Linked DNA regions of Homo sapiens: region 2 is linked to region 1. Evidence: promoter capture Hi-C in human tissues and cell types (Jung and others, 2019). All regions are on one chromosome and are shown on one strand. The core of a region is centred on a gene start or on the middle of the fragment in contact, and the rest is flanking DNA. Distances in the headings are between cores, read along the strand shown. Region 1 holds the start of REXO1 (RNA exonuclease 1 homolog). Region 2 holds the start of APC2 (APC regulator of Wnt signaling pathway 2).

Region 1 (4,396 bases), core at 513-3,012:
CTCCACGAAAACATACAAAGTTAGCCAGGCTTGGTGGCACCCGCCGCCCATAGTCCCAGCTACTCAGGAGGTTCAGGCAGGAGGATCCCTTGAGCCCAGGAGGTCGAGGCCTCAAAGAGCTGTGATCGCACCACTGCACTCCAGCCTGGACTATAGAGTGAGACCCTGTCTCTAAAAATAGGGTTAAAATGAGCATCGTGAGTCTGGTGTCACAGCCTCCGAGAAGCCTCTCCCACGCGTTGCCTTCTTCACCAACTCCCAGCCCCCGCCAAAGCCGGCTGCGTGCTCCCAGGACATCACGACCTATGCTACGGGATCTGTAGGCACAGCTGTCGGCAGGTCCCTGAGAGCACAGCCGGCATCGTACGCAGCTCTGAATCCCCCGCCTCAAACACAGCGAAGACGCTGGGCTGTGGGGAGCTGACAAGTGATTGCTTGCATCTGTCCACCTGCAAACAACCGCCCACAGGTGCAGGTGTCCCAAGCACACTTATCAGGGAAATCAGAAAAAAATGCTACCTTTTCTGGCAAAACAGGAAAATAAACCTATTCTTAAATCCTAGAGAAGATGTTTCTCTTTTGCAGGAAAAGGTTCTGAGCTGAGACTGTTTCATGGTTAAAGTAAAAACAGTGCTTGAAACTCACGCCCAATGAGGAAATCTGGGACGAAGGAAGTCAGGGGCTGGGTGAAGCAGAGAGCCACTATCAAGGGACAGAGGTAACAGGGGAGTCTGAATGACATCACACTCGATAACCCTCCCTCCACGACTTTCCTTGCGATGTCCCTCTTTTTCTCCAATCCAAATCCCACATCTCCTCCAAGAAACGCTGCCATGACGATGAAAACCACCATGACGCTGTGAGGTGGAGTCCACCAACGTCCTCTGCCCGACCAAAAGCATGGAATTCCTCGGAGCCCACTCGAGTAAGCTTTGACTTCCTCCCTGCCAGTCATGCTGGACACAGGGCTCGACAAACACAAGAGACGATCCTCGGACCATCCTAACTCAACGACTGGAGACTGAGGTGGCCGCTGCCAGAGGCGCGGCCGGAGGAAACGTCATGGAAATAAACAAGGGCGGCCACAAGCACATGGGGTCCGGGAAGCGGCGGGCGCCAATCAGGGGCAGGAGGAGTCCAGGACCTGCCTAGCGCCGGCCGCGCCCGTCTCCCGAGCCCCCTTGTGTCAGGCCCGGTGCCCGGTACTCAACATGCGCTCGCACTCCGCCCTCTAGACAGCCCTGGCAGGACGCGTCCTCCTAGTTGACATTTCACACTCGTGAAGACGAAGGCTTAGGGACATCTAGTGCTTTGCACCGGGTCCCAGGGTGGGTGGTTCCGGTCCCGACTGGGAAAACCGTCGCCCGCGAACGTGTGGGGAGGAGGCTGGGCCGAGAACGGGGACCCCGGGCGGGACCGGGGTGGGGTCCAGACCCGGGCAGGGGAGCCGAGCCCAAGGCAAGCAGGCGGGCGGGCATTACCTGCTGCGGGGGGCGCCTCTCCGCCGTCACCGGGCGCGCCGGAGCCCCGGGCCCCGCGGTGCCGGAAGTGGCAGTAGGGCCGCCGGCAGGGCCCCCCGGGCGCCCCAGACCAATAGGGGCAGTCAATGGCCCGGAAGAAGCCAGTGGAGCGTAGCATGGTCCGTCCCGCGGCGGGGCCCCGGCCCGGAGCCGCCCGGGCCCCAGGGCCCCCTCACTGGCGCCGCGGTCGCCGCCGCCCGCGCCTCACGGACCCCGCCGCCGCCATCTTGCTCCGAGGCCCCCGGAGGCCCTCGGGACGCCGCCGCAAGGGACCCCGGGAGGGGCTGCCCGCAGCGCGCCTGCTCAGAAACGCCTGCTCCTGCGCGACCAAGGCTGGTGACGGACCCCTGGGCCGGGACAGACGGCCGCGGGAGGAAGTAAGGAGGGCAGGGGCTGCCCTGCCTGCGGTCTCCGGGAGCCTCGCCAGCGCCGCCGCCCGACCTTCGGCGGCTGTAGCGGCGCCATCTTGAGCCCCAGGCCCCTGCGGCGCCAGGGCTGTCCACGGCGCGCCTGACCAAAAAAGCCCCGCGGGGCCCGCTATTACTCATTTGCATATTATTTCCTTTCGTTAGCATATCACCTTAAGGCGCCCTCTGCTGGACGAGGAGAGTTCTGCGGGGAGGTGGCCTTAAACCTGGGCCAGGTGAAACTCATGGTTGAATTACTCCGTTCACAGTCTTTAAAAATCCCCTCGCCCTGGTATACAGCTGGCTCTCAAGAAACGCCTTAATCTCCCCAACCTCGACTCTTGTCATCAGTCTAATGACCAGGTCCACGTTCACTCATTTGTTCAACAAATATTGAGCGCCTACTGTATACCAGCTAGAGGGTGCATTTTAACAGACAAACGAGGAACAAGGCTGGGATGGGGCAACTCTGTAGTCTGGTGGAGTAGGCCCACGTCTTAATGGGAAGTTTAACCTGGTGCATTTTGGTGGGATTGTAAAATAGTGCCACTGCTATGTAAAACAAAAAACCCAAAAAGTTTGTTTTTAAGAGACAGGGTCTTGCTCTGTCACCCAGGCTGGAGAGCAGTGGTGCGATCACGGCTCACTGCAGCCTCGACTTCCCTGGCTCAGGTGATTCTCCCACCTCAGCCTCCCGAGTAGCTAAAACCACAGGTGTGCACCATCATGCCTGGCTAATTTTTTGTATTTTGTGTAGAGATGGAAAAAGTTAAACAGAATTACCCTATGAGCAACTCTATTCCTGGGTATACACCCAAAAAGAATAGAAAGCAAAGTCTTAGGTCGGGCACAGTGGCTCATGTCTGTAATCCCAACACTCTGGGAGGCTGAGGCGGGTGGATCACTTGAGCCCAGGATTTCAAGACCAGCTTGGCCAATATGGCAAAACCCTGTCCTACTAAAAATACAAAAATTAGCTGGGCGCGATGGCTCACGCCTGTAATCCCAGCTCTTTGGGAGGCCGAGGAGGGAAGATCAACCGAGGTCAGGAGTTTGAGACCAGCCTGGCCAAGATGGCGAAACCCCACCTCTATTAAAAATACAAAAATTAGCTGGGCGTGGTGGCGGGCGCCTGTAGTCCCAACTACTTGGGAGGCTGAAGCAGGAGAATCACTTGAACCTGGGAAGCGGAGGTTGCAGTGAGCCAAGATTGCACCACTGCACTCCAGCCTGGGTGACAGAGTGACAGTCCGTCTCAAATAACAATACAATGGTTAAGATGACAAATTTTATGTTATGTGCATGTGATTTTACCACAATTATAAATAAATGACAGGATGCAATGATGAGGGGACGTGGGTTGGGATGGGTCATGGGCGACTCTGCAGAGGACCTGATCTAATCTCAAAGCTGTCCTATCATGGGCAGTGGAGGCGTAGACTCCCTGTCATGGCTCCTGATGATGCGTGAGAGATGAACTCTCATTTATGCGATTGCTCCATCCGTGCCGGCTGGTGTCGGTCATTCATTCAGCAAATAGTTACTGAGCACCTACTGTGTGCCACAAAATGCTAGAAACATCCATAAGCAGAGCAGAGAACCCCACTCTGGTGGAGGTGATGGTGTAGGCAGGGAGGCCGACAATGAACACAGCAATAAGTGAGACAGCCTGAAGCCAGGTGGAAAGTGCTTTGAGAACAGAAACAGGAGAAGAGCCTGGACTGGGCACAGGGCTGGTCTGGGTGATTCTATGGGGAAGGCGGGATTTGTGCGGTTTTACAGAAAATTAGGGGCCAGGCATGGTGCCTCTCGCCTGTAATCCCAGCACTTTGGGAGGCTGAGGCAGGCAGATCACTTGAGGTCAGGAGTTCGAGACCAGCCTGACTAACATGGTGAAACCCCATCTCTACTAAAATTACAAAAATTAGCTGGGTGTGGTGGCCCATGCCTGTAATCCCAGCTACTCGGGAGGCTGAGGCAGGAGAATCCCTTGAACCTGGGAGGCGGAGGTTGCAGTGAGCCAAGATTGCACCACTGCACTCCAGCCTGGGTGACAGAGTGAGACAGTGTCTCGAAAAAATAAAAGATAAATAAATAAATAAAAGATGATGAGGGAGCCAAGCAGGCTTCTGGAGGAAAAGCATTCCGGGCAGAGGGCACAGGCCATGGGCAGGACTGCGCCTGGTGTGTTGGAGGAACAGCGAGGAGGCCAGTGTGGCTGGACCAGGGTGAGGAGGGGGAGAGAGGCAGGAGGGAAGAGCAGGGAGAGGACGGGGCAGGTCATGCAGAACCCTATGGGCCTCAGGGAGGACTTGGGCTTTGACTGTGAGGGCAGTGGGAGCCATGGAGGGTTGCGGGCAGAGGAGGAACCAGACTTGCCCCAGGTGTTCACGGACACCCTCTGGTGGCCGTGGGGAGGACAAACCGTGAGGAGACCAGGGCCAAGGTGATTGCACTGGTTCAGGTGAG
Region 2 (4,396 bases), core at 1,897-4,396, 400 kb before region 1:
GCGGAGCTAAGGCGCCCGCAAGAGAACGCGGGGCGGGGGCCGGGGAGCTGTCCGCGGTGCTGACGGAGGCGCACGTCTGCCGACTCGCCGCCGGGGAAACTGAGGCCCATAGCGGCGGTCAGGCTTCAGGGCGCGGCCTGGACCGGCCTACCCCACCCTCCCCCACCTCCGGTGGCCTCCTCACCGGTCAGGGCTCTGCCCGGCCACCCAGCCGGCGGCGGGCCGTCTCTATCCTCCCGCGATGACCTGGTGCCTTCTCTGTCCCCACCCAGCTCCCGATGGGGGCCGCCCCTGTTTCTGCCTCTAGCCCCTGGCACAGAGGAGGCATCAAGGGGGCGGGGACAGCTCGAGGTCAGACTCAGAAGGCTCAAAGACACTCCAAGAGTGAGCCGTGTGCCAGGCTGCGGACTTGCGGGGAGGTGTCACAGGACAGGGGTGGGGGAGTGAGCATTTCATGGAACTTCCCCTTTAGCCCAGCAGCAGTAGGGGGCGTGGAGGACCCCAGGGAGGAGCCTAGGTCGGGGTCTTGGGCTAGGCCCTGCGTTCTGCAGTGGGAGAAGGGGGAGACCTCTCTCAGTCTCCTGAAGTCCTAGGGGGCTGTGGGGGGTTCTTGAGGCTCTGAAATGTCTGGTGATGTCTGAGTGTGGCTGTGGTTCAAGGATTTACAGGGTCGAGGATTTTAGTGTGTGGGGGGGGATTGTTCAGGGACATAATGTTTTGTAGATTTGGGGCCAAGGGCATCTTGTCTTGGGGTCTCAGCCCCCATGTACCCTCAGCCCTCCAGGCCCTGGCCACCCCCAGAGGGATAAGAAGGGAGGTTCAGTGTCACTCCGGAGGCCTGGCTGGCACAGGTGAACTCAGGCAACACGTTCCCTGGCCCAGGCCTCAGTTTCCCCATGTATACAAGGACAGGACTGACCTTGGATCCCCCAAACCCCTGCCTGATGGGGGCCTGGGGAGCTGAGACATCTGAAACTACACAGGGAGGTGGGACTTAGTTCCTCTTTGGGGGAGGCAGGGATCATCCAACCCACCCTTCAGTAAACAAGACTGGAAACCGAGGCCAGAGAGAGACATGCCCAGGGGGACACAGGGACAACAAGGCTGAGCTGAAGCCAGGGCCCTGGGCTCTGCATCCCCAACCCCATTTCAGCCTCGCCCAGCTCTGCCCCGGCTTGACCTGTCAAACCCCACCACGCGCCCTACCCCATGGCTCCACCAGACACCCCCTGTGTCCCAAGCATGCATTGATCTTCCCTCAGCCTGGAACGCCTCTCCTCCTGATCACTGCTGTTCACTTCTCAGGGCAGCCTTCCAGCCTCCAGAAAAAAATCCCCTTCGAGGCGGGCGGATCATGAGGTCAGGAGTTTGAGACCAGCCCGACCAACACGGTGAAACCCCCTCTCTATTAAAAATACAAAAATTAGCTGGCAAGGTGGTACATGCCTGTAATCCCAGTTACTGAGGAGTCTGAGGCAGGAGAATCACTTGAACCCAGGAGGCGGAGGTTGCGGTGAGCCGAGATGGCGCCACTGCACTGCAGCCTGGGGGACAGAGCAAGACCCCATCTAAAAAAAAAAAAAAAAAAAGGCCGGGCGTGGTGGTTCACGCCTGTAATCCCAGCACTTTGGGAGGCCGAGGCGGGTGGATCACGAGGTCAGGAGATCGAGACCATCCTGGCTAACGTGAAATCCCGTCTCTACTAAAAAATACAAAAAATTAGCCTGGGCGTGGTGGCGGGCGCCTGTAGTCCCAGCTACTCGGGAGGCTGAGGCAGGAGAATGGCGTGAACCTGGGAGGCGGAGCTTGCAGTGAGCCGAGAACGTGCCACTGCACTCCAGCCTGGGCTACAGAGCAAGACTCCGTCTCAAAAAAAAAAAAAAGAAAAAAAAGAAAAAGAAAAAAGAAAAGATCCCCTGTGTCTGCCCACTGCATTGCCTCCCCAGACCCAACCAGTGGGGACAGCTGCGTCCAGCTCTGGGGGCTCCCAGACAGCCAGGCCGAAGGGCTCTCAGCCCCTGGCAGTGCTGGCCCGGGACAAGGCCCTCGGGTCTTCAGCTCAAGGCCCAACAGGAAACAGCACGGGTCCTCCCTTGCCTTTGTCTACGGGGCCTTGAATACTCGGACCTTCCCACCCTCTCCTATCATTCCCTGCACCAGCCCTTGCAGAATCTTCCGCCTCCTCTCCATTTTACAGAGGAGGAAACCGAGGGTTGAGCGGCGAATGATTTGCCCTGCCTGCCCAGCACGGAAAAAAATCACTCTTCTGGCCCCAGTCGCCTCCCTTTCTGTGCTGTGAGTCTGTGTCCAGAGCAGGAAGGGCTGCTCCGAGCTGCAGGGACGGGCTCTGTGTGTTAAACCTTCAAATGGCTTCCAGGGACTCATGGAGCATCCAGGACACCTGGAGATGGCGACTCCTGGGACCCCTGGCCCTTCCCTCCTCTGGCCTTCGGTCCGTGAGGGTGAATTAAGTGTGCCACCCACCAGGGGCAGAGACACATGGAGACAGAGATTGAGAGACAGAGAACAGAGGGGGAGACAGAAAGAGAGAGGGACATGAAGAGCAACGGAGTTACAGGAGGATCTGACGCTCCGTTGGGGAGACAGGGAGAAATGTGGGGAGATGCAGCGTCCCAGGTGCTCCCCAGTGGCCCTGCCCCTCCTCCCCTCTCCCCTCCCCACCAGGCAGGACCCTCAGGGAGCTCCAGCCTGGACCCGAACCCTGTCCCACCCTGACGCACCTGCACCAGGCCAGGCTGGACCTGTGGGGTGGGTGCAGGCCTGGCCCCAGCCCGGCCACTGCCCTGGAAACCCCTCCCCCGCCAAGATGCTGATGTAACATCCAGGATTTGATGTTTTACTCTCCAATTCTGCAAATCCAGACGCAGGAGGTTTTAAGAGGCCGTTGCACCCTGCAATAAAGTGCGGGACACAGGAATCTTGGTCCTCGGGGCACCCCCTTCCCTCGGGGGGGTTTCGCCCCCCGCACTCACGGCCCCTGAGCCCGCGCGGAGGCCCGACGCCCCGCGGCCGACGCCGGTCCCCGCCCCGGGCCGCCATTGGCTGTTGCCATGGCACCAGCCCGTCTTCCCGCGCCCTCATTGGCTGTCTCACCCGCATCCCTCATCCCGCATCCTCCCCCGCTCGCGGTGGTCTCGCCCAGCGCTAGGAGCGGCAGCGCCGCCTGCCCAGGCCCGGACCGGGCTTTGTCCGCCCCGGAGCCCCTGCCCGCGCCGCGGAGACCCCGGAGCCCGCGCGCTCCGAGGCCACCCCGGGCCGGGATTTCCGGTGGGGCCCGCGGAGCCGCGCAGAGGGAGGAGGCCCCAGACCCAGGCGCCCCGCCAGCCCAGCTGCACGTAAGCGGGTGTGTGTCCTCGGGGAGGAGGGCAGGGGCGCGACCTCCGCCTCGCGTCGAGGTTTCCATCCCTGGCTCTCAGCATTGCCCGTCAGCACAGACTCTGGACCCTCCATTTCCCCAGAGTGGGAGCTGGAGGGGAAACTGAGTCCCGGTGAGCTGGGCGTCAGCGTTTCTGCAGCCGGTCCTGCGCACACACCCACTCACGGGCTTCACCATCCGGACCTCCCTGAGGTGATCGGAGGAAGGGATGGGCAGGCCAGTGGTGTGTCTTCGGGGGTGTTGCTGCACCTCTCTGGGTGTCAGTTTCCCTCTCTGGAAAGAGGGGGTTTGGATTAAAGGAAGGAGAAAGGCCCCTTTGGGCCTGGCTTCCCATACCTGTGCCTCCCTCCCCTGAAATGCAGCCCGCTCAATAAGACCAGCCCCCAGTCATGGTGCCTTCAGGGAGTGATCGCTCAGGAAGGCCCCCAGGAGGCTACACGATGCAACCTGGGGGTGAAAGTAGGCAGAAGAGCTTCGTGGAAGAAGCTGCACTGTGTGGGATGGCAGGACTTAGAAAAGGTGCTCTAGGCAGGGCAACTGCACGTGCAAAGGCCTGAGAGAAGAGAGCCTCCAGCCTCTAAGTGAGTCGCGGTGTACATGGAGGAGTCGGAGCGTATCCTGAGGGCACTGGGGAGCCATGGAAGGTGTTTGAGCATGGGAGAAATGGGATCTCACTTGTGACGTTTAAAGCTCCCTCTGGCTGTGCATGGGGGACTGTGGGAGGCCAGGAAGAGGCTGATCAGAATGTCCTCACAGAGGGGTGTCAGGAGCTGGGGGAGGCATGATCCCGCTGGGCAGAGCTTGGAGGGACTAGCTTAGTCTGATGAGGATGCAGAAATGACCACCGAATGTGGGGAGAGGGAAGGTGTCTGAGGCTTGGCTTCGGTCAGCTGAGAAGAACCACGTGGGGGAGGCCTGGGTTTGGGGAGCAGGAGGCAGACATGTGTTGCTTTGCACGTCATCTGGTCCTTCCACCTGGCTGGGCATGGGATGGTGACC

The links. The method cuts DNA at HindIII sites, captures the fragments that hold promoters and counts their contacts. A contact is called where the count stands out against the background at its distance.
Region 2: a contact is called between the fragment with the promoter of APC2 here and the fragment with the promoter of REXO1 in region 1, in 1 of the 25 tissues and cell types used here (dorsolateral prefrontal cortex).

Annotation. Positions count from the first base shown.
Region 1 is chr19:1,846,721-1,851,116 of GRCh38, forward strand. It overlaps REXO1 (RNA exonuclease 1 homolog), which reads right to left and starts at 1,763. Exons shown (of 16, transcript NM_020695.4): 1 at 1,482-1,763. The coding sequence starts at 1,638. RefSeq lists a silencer at 1,491-1,960 and enhancers at 1,981-2,130, 2,151-2,230. The HindIII fragment of the contact is 7,366 bases long and covers 1-4,396 here.
Region 2 is chr19:1,446,975-1,451,370 of GRCh38, forward strand. APC2 (APC regulator of Wnt signaling pathway 2) reads left to right here and starts at 3,147. Exons shown (of 15, transcript NM_005883.3): 1 at 3,147-3,364. RefSeq lists silencers at 1-250, 2,994-3,193. The HindIII fragment of the contact is 30,284 bases long and covers 1-4,396 here.